Linked DNA regions of Homo sapiens: regions 2 and 3 are each linked to region 1. Evidence: promoter capture Hi-C in 16 types of primary human blood cells and fetal thymus (Javierre and others, 2016). All regions are on one chromosome and are shown on one strand. Each heading gives the region's core, a stretch centred on a gene start or on the middle of the fragment in contact. The rest is flanking DNA. Distances are from core to core; before and after follow the strand shown.

The links. The method cuts DNA at HindIII sites, captures the fragments that hold promoters and counts their contacts. A CHiCAGO score of 5 or more calls a contact.
Region 2: a fragment that was not itself captured here is called in contact with the fragment with the promoter of DNAJC7 in region 1 in 5 of 17 cell types (fetal thymus, erythroblasts, naive CD8 T cells and 2 more); the score reaches 7.4 in fetal thymus.
Region 3: a contact is called between a fragment that was not itself captured here and the fragment with the promoter of DNAJC7 in region 1, in 1 of 17 cell types (fetal thymus). The highest score is 5.3, in fetal thymus.

The regions. Positions count from the first base shown.
Region 1 is chr17:42,015,431-42,019,107 of GRCh38, reverse strand. DNAJC7 (DnaJ heat shock protein family (Hsp40) member C7) reads left to right here and starts at 1,669. Exons shown (of 14, transcript NM_003315.4): 1 at 1,669-1,768. The coding sequence starts at 1,692. It also overlaps a transcript of NKIRAS2 not described here. RefSeq lists a silencer at 1,361-1,510 and enhancers at 1,621-2,030, 2,101-2,150, 1,261-2,460. The HindIII fragment of the contact is 9,207 bases long and covers 1-2,904 here.
Region 2 is chr17:42,516,211-42,519,887 of GRCh38, reverse strand. All of the region lies in intron 21 of ATP6V0A1 (ATPase H+ transporting V0 subunit a1), which reads right to left. Among named protein-coding and RNA genes, the nearest start is that of MIR5010, 3.9 kb to the right of the region's middle. RefSeq lists a silencer at 2,289-2,338 and an enhancer at 2,782-3,281. The HindIII fragment of the contact is 3,596 bases long and covers 1-3,429 here.
Region 3 is chr17:42,306,922-42,310,598 of GRCh38, reverse strand. STAT5A (signal transducer and activator of transcription 5A) reads right to left here. Exons shown (of 19, transcript NM_001288718.2): 14 at 3,103-3,197; 15 at 2,876-3,006; 16 at 2,266-2,421; 17 at 1,501-1,552; 18 at 1,115-1,222; 19 at 1-92. Among named protein-coding and RNA genes, the nearest start is that of STAT5A, 20 kb to the right of the region's middle. The HindIII fragment of the contact is 2,189 bases long and covers 577-2,765 here.

The DNA of each region.
Region 1 (3,677 bases), core at 420-2,919:
AATGATGAGCGCCTGAATCGGGATGGAAAGGTGGAGATAGATTTGGGAAATATTTGGTAGGAGAATCAACAAAACTTGGCAACAAATTGGAAGCCAAGAGTGAGAATGGTTTAATCCATTTAACAAGATACGGAATTTAGGAAAGATAATAATTACATCCAACATTTGTTTTTTCTGTTGTTGAGGTGTGGGTAGACAATGAAAAAGTTAAATTTAAATATGGTAAGCCTTGGGGATTTGTGAAACATACAAGAGATATCCAGTAGATAGTTGGATATACAGCTGTGGAAGCTGAAGAAAGGTCTAGGTTGGAGATATGAAAAGTTGAGAGTCATCAACAGATGGAAGTAAAGCTGTGGGAATAAATGAGTTGCCTTAGATAGAACATAAAGTGGGAAGATGGTGAGACAGGTTGGCTAGCATTAGACTGGACTATGAGCCACTGGCAGGCAGGGCAGGTGGTCTGTAAGTCTTGTGCCCTCACAACCTAGCACAGAGTAGGCGTTTTGGAAAGGGCTGAGTGATTGGCTCAACGAATGACCCCTCCTTTCCAACCTAGTGAGCTTGTCCTATCCCTCCCTACTCAGTGGTCGCTGTGGTTTCAGCTCCCTCCACACTGGGATAGGCAGAGTATGAGCATTGGCACATGCTGTTTTCCTGGAACAAACAGGTAAATCCTTTTAAAATTCCTTTGCCCTCTTCTTATTTTACTCTTAGCTTTACATTGTAAAGCTACTCCTCATACTCCTCCAATTTAACCCCAGAAAGCTCCAATTTAATTCAGCTCCACAAATAGTCGTTTGGGTGAGGGAATAACAACAAAGACAGTTAAACTGTGCCCTTGTCCCCTATGAATTCTCAATCCAGACCGCATTCGGCAAGGCAAGCGTGATGAGTAGAGAGTTTATATAAGAGGTGGGAGTACTGGGGACACAAGAGCAAGGACCTCACCCCGCGAGCTTCCTTATAAACTCCAGGGCAGGGTCTGGGGCGCCATGTGTCAGCTTTCCTAGGCTTAATGCTGAGATGGCACTCCCAGGCGGCTGACATGAAAGGAGCCTTGTAAAAGGGTCAGCGTCATTAGGGTGATGAACCAGTTGGTGTTTGGAGATCCGGAGTGGATGAAAGGCGCAGGGTGAAGACGCCCTGCGTTCCCCTGGCTTGACTGGGCAGGGCTTCCAGAGAACGATGAAAGCTGGGGGAACTGAGCTCAAAGTGTCTCTTGACTTTCCCGGGAAGAAGCTGTGGACACACTCCAAGGTCGGAAAGGTAGCAGTGGGGACTCCTTCCCTACAGAGTCTTGGGTCACCTGGTCCCCACGCAACCCAGACTCCACGGAGCCTTTCAGGAAGACTCTCTAGGATTGGAAGTTGCTATGGCAATGAGGCTCTTGGAATACTGAAAGCAGCCAAGCCCTAGAGAGGCTACCACCGGTACACCCCGCCTTCCCACCCACGGGTAAAGTGGCGCCGCCTACGCACCGGCACAGCCCCTGGGCTCCCGCCCCGGCGCGGAGACCACCGTGGACATCCGGGGGCGGGAGGCCGCTCTGGCCCCAAGCGGAGCCTCTCTCTGGTAGACGAGCCCGAGGGAGCCCTTCTGGGCGCGGCGCCGCGGAGCTGCTCTATGCTCCAACCGGAAGTGCTCTTCACCGCCGGCCTCCCACCCAGCTCTCTGGTCCCGGCGGTAAGATGGCGGCTGCCGCGGAGTGCGATGTGGTAATGGCGGCGACCGAGCCGGAGCTGCTCGACGACCAAGAGGCGAAGAGGTAACCGGGTAGCAGGGTAGTAGAGGAGGCGACCTGCAGCTCCGTGGCTCAGGGAAACTCGTTCCTGCCATGATGCAGCCCCCAGCTGTTGAGGCGATGCCCCGCCCTCCGCAAACACCCCCCCATCTGAGATCAAGGCCGGATGGACCCCCTGAAGGGGCGCTCTTGGGGGTCGGCCTTCCTCTCCCGCTTCCGCCTGGCGTAGGAGCTGAGGCATGGCCTTGTTCTCCAGCTGAGAGGACGATCGTCCTTATAGGAGAGGCCGAGTCTCCGAGGGCAATTTCAGAGGTCTGGTGCGAGGTGGGGGAAGCGGCGCGGCGTCGATGACGACTTCCTTACATCGCCCCCGACCCCCGCGTTCTCTTGTTAACTTCTGTGCATTGTTGCCTGTCTGCACTTTCCGTCTCCAAAACCTTTGCTCTCCTCACCCCGTTTTCCCTTGTAATTATACCCCAGCGATCACTAGTCTGGGTTCGAAGTGATTGTGTGTCTCCATAATTGACCTGGTTGCCCCCGGTTATCCCAGAAGTCAAAGATGACAGAGAAAAAAAGGAAGAGCGAGGGGCTTATCTCGTGTTCTCTACGTCAGACTCCTCTTCCCCTGTCCTTCCTGGGTGATCTTTATCCTTCCCAGCACTGTTCTTTCTTAAGTTAAGCACCAAGGAAGAGGGCAACTGCTTGGGCGCTGTTGGCACTCCGAAGCAGCCGCAGTGGTTCGAGATTGCCAGTCGGACTAGCCAAGGGAGCTGCTGAGTGAGTGGTTTTCGAGAACGCTCTAGATTCTGGCAACAGTTAGGCCAGATTATTGGAAGTGGGGTTGGAACAGAGTTGTGGGTAGTCATACTTGTTCTAATCCTAAAGCAGAATTGACAAGAAGGTTCTAGAAGTTTGGAGCCCTTTCCTTATCAGCTGCGGGTTAGTCTGACCCTTTTGTTCAAGATATCTACAGTGCCCTCAGTCTCTTTGCAACATACTTTATATCTTCATACCAAGCCCGTTGTGTCTTCAGGCTGGGTAATTTGAGGCGGTGATGTAGAATTAGTTCATGAGATCTGAAATCAGGATTCTGAGATTTTTACTATCTAATGAGTTCGAAATATAAGAAGTACTCGGACGCAATGAATAGTTATCAAGCTTGAGGGTGGTTACCACAGCCAGATCTCAAGTTCCTGATCTGCTGGGAGCTGAGGGGCCTGACAAAGTGTAATAGGCCCCTGGGATATCAGAGAAGCCAGGACACCAGAGTCCAGTCTCTGTTCTTAATTTTGAGCTTTCATGTTGTTCCTACTTCTTCCTAGATATTTAAAGCTAAGCATCATCAACCCTTATACATCATTAAAGAGCTGCACAATGGGAAACAAAATTCCTCCCAGTGCAGACGGAGCTTAAATTAATTGTAGAGATTTACTTGTATTTGGAAAGAGTTCAGTGGTTCTTTATACTGTAAATAGGGATTTGGCCACAGGTTATTTATTTTTTATTTTTTGAGACGGAATCTCGCTCTGTCGCCCAGGCTGGAGTGTAGTGGCGCGACCTCAGCTCACTGCAAGCTCCGCCTCCTGAGTTCACACCATTCTCCTGCCTCAGCCTCACCAGTTGCTGGGACTACACGTGCCCACCACCACATCCGGCTAATTGTTGTTTTTTTTTTGTATTTTTAGTAGAGATGGGGTTTCACCCTGTTAGCCACGATGGTCTCGATCTCCTGACCTCGTGATCCGCCCACCTCGGCCTCCCAAAGTGCTGGGATTACAGGCGTGAGCTACTGTGCCGGGCTGGCCATAGGTAATTTTAAAAACTCACCCTACTCATTGTAAATCTCTGATGTAGAGTGTCCCTATTTTGGACTTCATTTCATAGCCTCCTATCTTAAGCAAATACATTTCTTCAATCACAGCCTTAGAGGATA
Region 2 (3,677 bases), core at 382-2,881, 500 kb before region 1:
GTGCAGGCTGAGGAGCACCCCCTTGAAGAAGAGCGCAACCGAATTTTCTGAGTGGGAGTAAAAGCAGTCAGCTTTCTTCCCCACATCCCCACATTCCACAGGGGTGGGCCAAGGTCCTCCAGGAAAAACAGGACTCAGGAGGGGGAGGACACAGAGCTTCCAACTGACGTTAGCTGACGGTTCCCACCAGAGCAATTCCAAACCAGGACCTGGATTCACCCACGTCCCAACACCCCACCAAAACTACTTCTCCAAGTTCCAGCTACTGAGACCACCTCTGAGGGAACGCGGTGGGGCCTAGCAGTGGGTTCCTGCTTCTCACCCACTTGTGTTAGGTTTGAATTCTTCATGTTGAATAGACTGTGTTCCCATGTGGCAAGGGTTATTTCAGAACAGCTGAAACGAGATTTACATGTCCCCTTTTCATTCAACAATACATAGCCAGAGAGTGGACAAGTCACCTGAGGGTCCCAGGCCATTACCTAGGAGTGAATGTCAGCCTTGGTAGGGTATGCTGACCCCCGACTCCAGTGAGGTGTCCAGAACTCTGACCCCCACCCCCTCCTGGCTAATCACAAAACCATTCTAATCTTCAAACTGGGCAAATGGAGCAGCAGCTTTGTTTTCAGATGCCTGTGGGGGCACCGCCCTTTTCTTGGCACCCCTCCAGTCACCTTATCTACCCATGGGGGCCCAGCAAGGAGGAAGAGGGATATATGCCTGGGAGGGGCACATCAATTGTACTGTGTGAGCAGACAGGTGGCCTCCCTGACATACTGCCCAATACTGCCCCTCCCACCAGCTGCTGCTTTAGAGACTTAGAGCGGCCAGAACTGGGACATCTTGGGTCTATCTTGAGGTCAGCCTGATTTCACCTCCTTCCGTGGCCACCCTCACCCCAACCACCCAGCACAAAGCTGGAAAGCAATTTCCCTGCTAGTCTCCCCACTCTCTCCCGCTGAACTGGGGAAATGTGTGCTTCCTGAGAAAGTACAAACATGAAGTTCCCCAGGGCAAGGGGGGCCCCATCTGCCATCCTAGGTTCTTCCTTCTTTTTGGGCATCTCCACTGCTCTGCTCAGGGAGCCTCCAAAGTCTTGCCATGCCCCAAGACACTGAAATGCACCTCTAGAATTCAACAGCTGTGAGGAGAGCCTCAGGACGCCAGATGAGTGTCTCTATCATCTCTTCCAGCTCCAGCACTTGGCAAAGGCCACCTGGTGACTCAGAGGGATTAACTGGGGCCAAAAGACATCATTCATGCCACGTAACAGGAACTCTGTTTCCTCGAGTGGGTGAAGGAGGAAGGAGTCTTGGGGCCGCTTCCCTTCCCTGGTGGGGGTTGTGACTGAGGGCAGGCAGTCTGGAAAGACAATTCTGGGCTGAGCTGTTTATGTAGCCTGTTCTGCCACTCTCTGTGCCGTTCAGGGCCTACAACACACATCTGTCTGACGGCCTGAATATCAGGGCAATGATGGCAGCCTGGAACTACATTTCAAGAGTTCTGAGTTCTCCTGGGCAGCCATTCCCTCAACTGCTCCATGCTGTCATGCCGTGGCAACACTGCATTCCTAACAAGAAGCTGGTCCCCGATTCTGTCCCTTTAATCACCACCCAATCTGTGAGTGTACAGGTAGGTGTACATCTATGTGTATGTGGAATTCGCTAGGTAAGGAGAGACCAGGTTCCTTGGAAGGTATGCCCTGGGGCAATAGTTCTGCATAAAAATCAGTTTGATGTTTACAGTGATAACTACAATCAAATCCCTGTCTCATGCCTTCTCTGAGGAAGAAAAGATGTCTAATTATGGTAGGTAAGAAGCCAAGCACACTTCATGTGGCAGGAGGGAGGAAAAGAGAGAAAACTCAGGAGACAGAATTAGCAGATTAATACATTAGCCTGCTCACTGTTTTCAAACACATCACCCCCCTTCCTATGATGCTGCATGAATCTCACACTAGTGGTTTATATGTTATCGAATCAAATGTTTTTCTTATTGTCCCCACTGAGGAGACCAGAACTTGTATAATGGGGCAGCCCTTGAATCAGGAAACAGCAGGGATAAAGTGGGAGGTATGAAGATGCCTAGGATGGATGCCAGGAAGAACAGCAGCACCATCCCTACAGCTGGTTCAGCAGCCCCAGAGGCTCCACCCCTGGTAAGAGGGCCACAGCTCAGAACGCCTCCTGCAGTCCTGGGCCACAGGGAAGATCCAGGCATCCTGGACGCACAGCCGCATTTTGCCAGGAGGGGGCGCACAAGCACCAATTTCATTCACTTCTGTTTTAGTGGTGGGGGAGGCGCCCCACTCGTGTCACGGGAACAGCCCTCCAAAGACGAGATTCTGGAAGTTGCACAAAGGAGGTTTGCACTGTTTTTTCCTCTCCTACCCAATACTCCTATTGCCAAAATAAATACGACATATATGGGGAGGCTGTTCCTTGCAAACAGCACCTGAGGGCATTCTGATGGTATCCTCTGCCTCCTCTGGGGTCTTCTCTCACTCTAGACAGGCTAAAAGCAGTCTTTTTATGGGGGACCCCAGGCAGACACCCTCTCTCTAGGGCATCCCAGGTTTTTTTGTTGTTGTTGTTGTTGTTGTTGTTTTGAGACGGAGTCTCGGTCTGTCGCCCAGGTTGCAGTGCAGTGGCGCGATCTTGGCTCACTGCAACCTCCATCTCCTGGGTTCAAGCGATTCTCTTGCCTCAGCCTCCCGAGTAGCTGGGATTACAGGCGCCCACCATCACGCCCAGCTAATGTTTGCATTTTTAGTAGAGATGGGGTTTCACCATGTTGTCCAGGCTGGTCTCGAACTCCTGACCTCAGGTGATCTGCCTGCCTCAGCCTCCCAGAATGCTGGGATTATAGGTGTGAGCCATCGCACCCAGTAAGGGCATCCCACTTTTAAGCAGAGCAGCCACTACCCATCCTAGAGCACCTGCTTTTGCTGTGGCAGCACTTGGTGTGTGCATTACTTCCTACTTGCTCACAGTAATCTTGGCAGTGAATGTTCTGCTCAGGTTCCCTGCCTGGTGTGACAGTGCTGGAATTCCAACCCAGGTCGCCCAATTCCGGAGCCTGCTGTCCTGCCACTCATCACTTCAGTTCAGGGGGACCTGGGAAGACACGGGGAGGCCACAGGTGAGCCTGAGGAGGAAGCAATCTTCTGGCAACAAAATGAGGCTCAAGCCCAGGCGGCCTTGCTCTGCAACAGTGCCTTGCTCCCGCCCTGCCCAGGGAGATGACCGGCTACCCACGTGGGCTGGAATCAAGGTGAGGTGGTCACTGTTCCCTCAAACCCAGGGCTCAAGAGACAGGAGTGAAAAGAAAAGAAAGGAGGCCAAGGGGCAAGAAAAAGTGAGTCCTCAGAGGTTCTCGTGCACTGAGGAGGGCTGAGGAAGTGTGCTTGCGGGGGTCGGCTGATAAGCTTAGAACAGGGAGGCCAGCCAGATGAGCTGGGTGGGGAGGAGGGAGGCCAGGAGGGAGAGAGCCAGGCCAGAGGAAGCCAGGTCTACTGACGCAGCAGGGCTTTTGAAGAAGAGTGCACCCTAGCCACGTCTTGCCCTTCCATGCCTCACTCTCCGCCCATCATTCAGAAAAACCCACAGCTGAATCTTTGAGGAGGCTCAGGGGTCACCCAGCCATGAGAATAATCAAAGATAAAGGGGAGTGGGGAA
Region 3 (3,677 bases), core at 422-2,921, 290 kb before region 1:
TTGGTCGGCGTAAGAGTTCCTCCACGTGCCTGGCCACATCCATGGTCTCATCCAGGTCGAATTCTCCATCCTGATCGAGTACATGGTCAGGGCTGGTAAAGACAGGGGGATGTCAGAGGGAGCTGGCATGTCTCACAGCCTCAAGCTCCCTGGGGACAGCCTCCAGCCTGCTCTCCACTCAAACCCGTCTCATGAGAACAGGACCAGTTCTGGCTGGATGCCCCCACCCCACCCCAAGCTGGGTAGCAGTCAGCCCACTGGCTTCTGCAGACCCCCACTCTATTCGCATCTCTTGCTAACTCACTGAATAATCTTAGGGAATTCATTTCCCCTCTCCGTGTCCTCATCTTAAAACCAGGTGGCTGACACAGTGGGCTCTGCCCACCTGCAATGATGCTCAGCTGCAATGGTAGGCACCGCCCCGTTCACTGAGCACTTAGAACAGCTGAATCTTTTCACTGAGCACCTAGAACAGCTGAGCCTATTGAGCACATGACTCCAATTTTTACAGCCAACTGGAGAGTGGGTATTGACCCCGTTTTATAGACGAGAAAACCAAGGCCATATCAGGAAGCTTGCTCTGGGCCACCTGGCTGGGAGGTGGTGGAGTCCGGATTGGAACCTGGGATCTTCAGTGGTCCCACTGGAAGGTGGTACCTCCCAGACATCCAGCCCTGGCTATCCACAGTGAGGAAGGGAATTAATTATCTACCTTGTTCCCACCAGACTCAAGAACAACCACCCCATTCATAGCTACCCTGTATCAAGCCCTTCCAAGCCCCTCCCTGTGGAAATGCTTCACCCACACTGTCTCAGTTTAATGCTCATCCCATTCTCATGAGGCAAGCATTCTTGCCTCCGTTTTACACATAAGGAAACTTGAGCATCAGAGAGGCTCAATCATTTTCCCAAGATCACACAGTTAGTACTAGAGTGAGGACTTGACCCTGCTATGTCTAGCTTCAAAATGCTCTGTTTTCCTGGCTGATCTCACTCCTCCTGGACTTGGGCCTAACCAGAGCTCTGGATCCTTTGCCCGCCAGCCCTCCAGGAGTCCAGCCTGGGGCCAAGTCCCCAGTTCTTCCCCTGCGGACCCCATGAGAACACCACCTACTTCTGTGGGTACATGTTATAGGGAGCCTGGGGGCACACAGCTGGGGAGGGGGCCTGGTCCATGTACGTGGCGCTGCTGCCCCCAGCATCTGCAGATGCATTCACAAACCTGCAGAAGGAAGAGAACAGAGCTTCAGCCACCAGGGAGGCCGGGGCAGCTGACTTGGGGAGGGGACCGAGGGGCATGTTTGTCTTTCTCGGGGTGTAGACGGACAAAGTGCCCCACTCGGCCCTGGGGCTCCAGCTACAGGAGAGGGGACTCCCTCCCCAGGGCTGAGACAGGTTCCCTGGGGGAGCGGAAAGCTGGGCCCAGGATCAGGATGGGAGGCAGGGTCTGGGGGAGGAGGAAAGAGGCAGAAGGAGAGCCACAGCCACCTGGACACTTACTCAGGGACCACTTGCTTGATCTGTGGTTTCACATATCCATCAACAGCTTTAGCTGTCAAGGGAAGAACAGTGGTGAGAACCAAAGTCTCTGGGAACTCCCAAGTGGGGTGGAAGCCCACGCCCCATGTAGTCTCCCTCCTGCTCACATCACCTTGTGTTCTCAGCTGGGATGAGATTTCCCAAGGACCCCCAATAAACACCAGCTGATGAATCCTGCCTGAGGGTCACTGAGACCCCTGGCTTGAATCCCATTCCTTCTGGTTCTTTTTCTGGCCATCTGATTTCCCTCTCCCTGCTCCCACCCCTGTCAAAGAATGAGAATCAACAAGCAAACCCAACCAATGGATTTGGGGCAGCTGGAAGAAGAGAGACTTCTCCCTTTTGCTGCCTGCACTCCACTCGGGGGAAGGTTTGTGAGCAGGGTGTGGAGAGCAGCTGGTGAGGTGGGGAGCGGAGCACTATCTGTGGGCTCGAATGATCCCGGCCACTCCCTACAGTGCTGCCACCCCTTCCTCCGAGGGTGCAGAAGTGAGAATCCATGCAGCTTTCACTTTGCAGAGAAGAGAGCTGGGACGGGTTTCTCGTTCCCTCTCCTCATTTGTGAGCCCTGAAATCCTCTCCACCACCCCATGGGCCAAAACCCACAGGGGACATGGCCCCTAGGCTCCTCCTGGGGAAGTCCCCACGGCGCAGCCCAAGGCTTTGTCTATGGGCTGGGGAAGAGCCCGGGGGAGTCAGCCGGCAGGGTCCTGGGGCAGTACCCACCCAGCACAGGAGTGTAGTACTTGGAGAAGACCTCATCCTTGGGGCGGTCAGGAAACACATAGATGAGATAGCTCAGGTCCCCCAGCCGGTCAGCCAGGGACCTGATGGAGAAATCCCGCGTGGTGAATGGTTTCAGGTTCCACAGGTTGCGTTCCGCTGTGAAAAGAACAGCCTCATTCCCATAATCCACCAGCAGCAGGAGGACCAAGGTTGTGGGGCTTTAGGGCAGGCTTGCAAGAGAAATCTGGGCTTTTATATAGTAGCTTGCGCTGCAGCCCCAGCCTGTAGGGAAGAAAGCCGATGCGGGATGTTCTACTCAGCAAACCAGATGAGCAGATACCAACAAGGCTGGGTCGTGGCAGAGAGGGGAGAGCGTGAAACTGCAGGAGGACTCGCCCAGCCGTCCTGGAGTCTATGGGGCTGGGGACTTCAGGTTCTCCAAAATGGAAAACAATAGAAAGAGAATACATTTCCAAGCCACAGCCCTCTCATACTAAGCTTCCCGCTGGGTACCTTCTAAGGACACAGGCCCGATGGAGGGTGGGGTGGCGGGGCAAGGGAACAAGAGACCGGGCCTTGGGGCTGGAGTGTGGGCAAAACGGGCACTCACGGGAGTCAAACTTCCAGGCGATGGTGATGCCCCCGATTTCTGAGTCACTAAAGCGCAACAAGAAGGTCCCGTCGGGCTTGTTGATGAGCAGGTCGTGGGCCTGTTGCTTATTCACAAAACCTAGGATGGCCCTGGGTGCACGGAGCATTGAGCGTCACCACTGGGCCACAGCCACAGTCTCTCTGCGCCCACAGCTGGCCCCTGACCCTGCAGCCCCCGTTCCTTACCCATCATTCCAGTGGGGCTTGTGGTGCTTCTTCAACACCTCCATCACCCCGTCAAACCACTGCCAGAAGGTGTAGTTCCAGCCCGGCAAGTTCTCCTGAGGGCCCAGGAACCCCCGAGTCAGGGCTGGTGCCCCAGGTCACAGGTGGCCCAGGAAAGTCAGGGCCCTCCTGCCCCCACCCAGTCTTCTCCCAGTTCTTCACCCCTGCTTGCCACCACACTCCAGCAGACCATAAAGTGACACAGCCCCCAACTTGTACCCTAGGAAAACAGAGAGGAAACTCACTTCTAAGACACAGGGGTCCAAGACCAGCCCAAGGGTGGGAGTAAGAGGTGTAAAGAATAATCTAGGCTGGATGGGGCCTCCAAAGTCATTCCTCCAAAGTCATCCCCTCATTTTACAGGTGGGGAAACTGAGGCACAGAGAATGGATGGGTCTTCAAAAATTAGCAAGGAGAGAGGCAGAAGGAGAGCCAGAGCCACAGGCGTGGTGGCTCACGCCTGTAATCCCAGCACTTTGGGAGGCCGAGGTGGGCGGATCACCTGAGGTCAGGAGTTCGAGACCAGCCTGACCAAC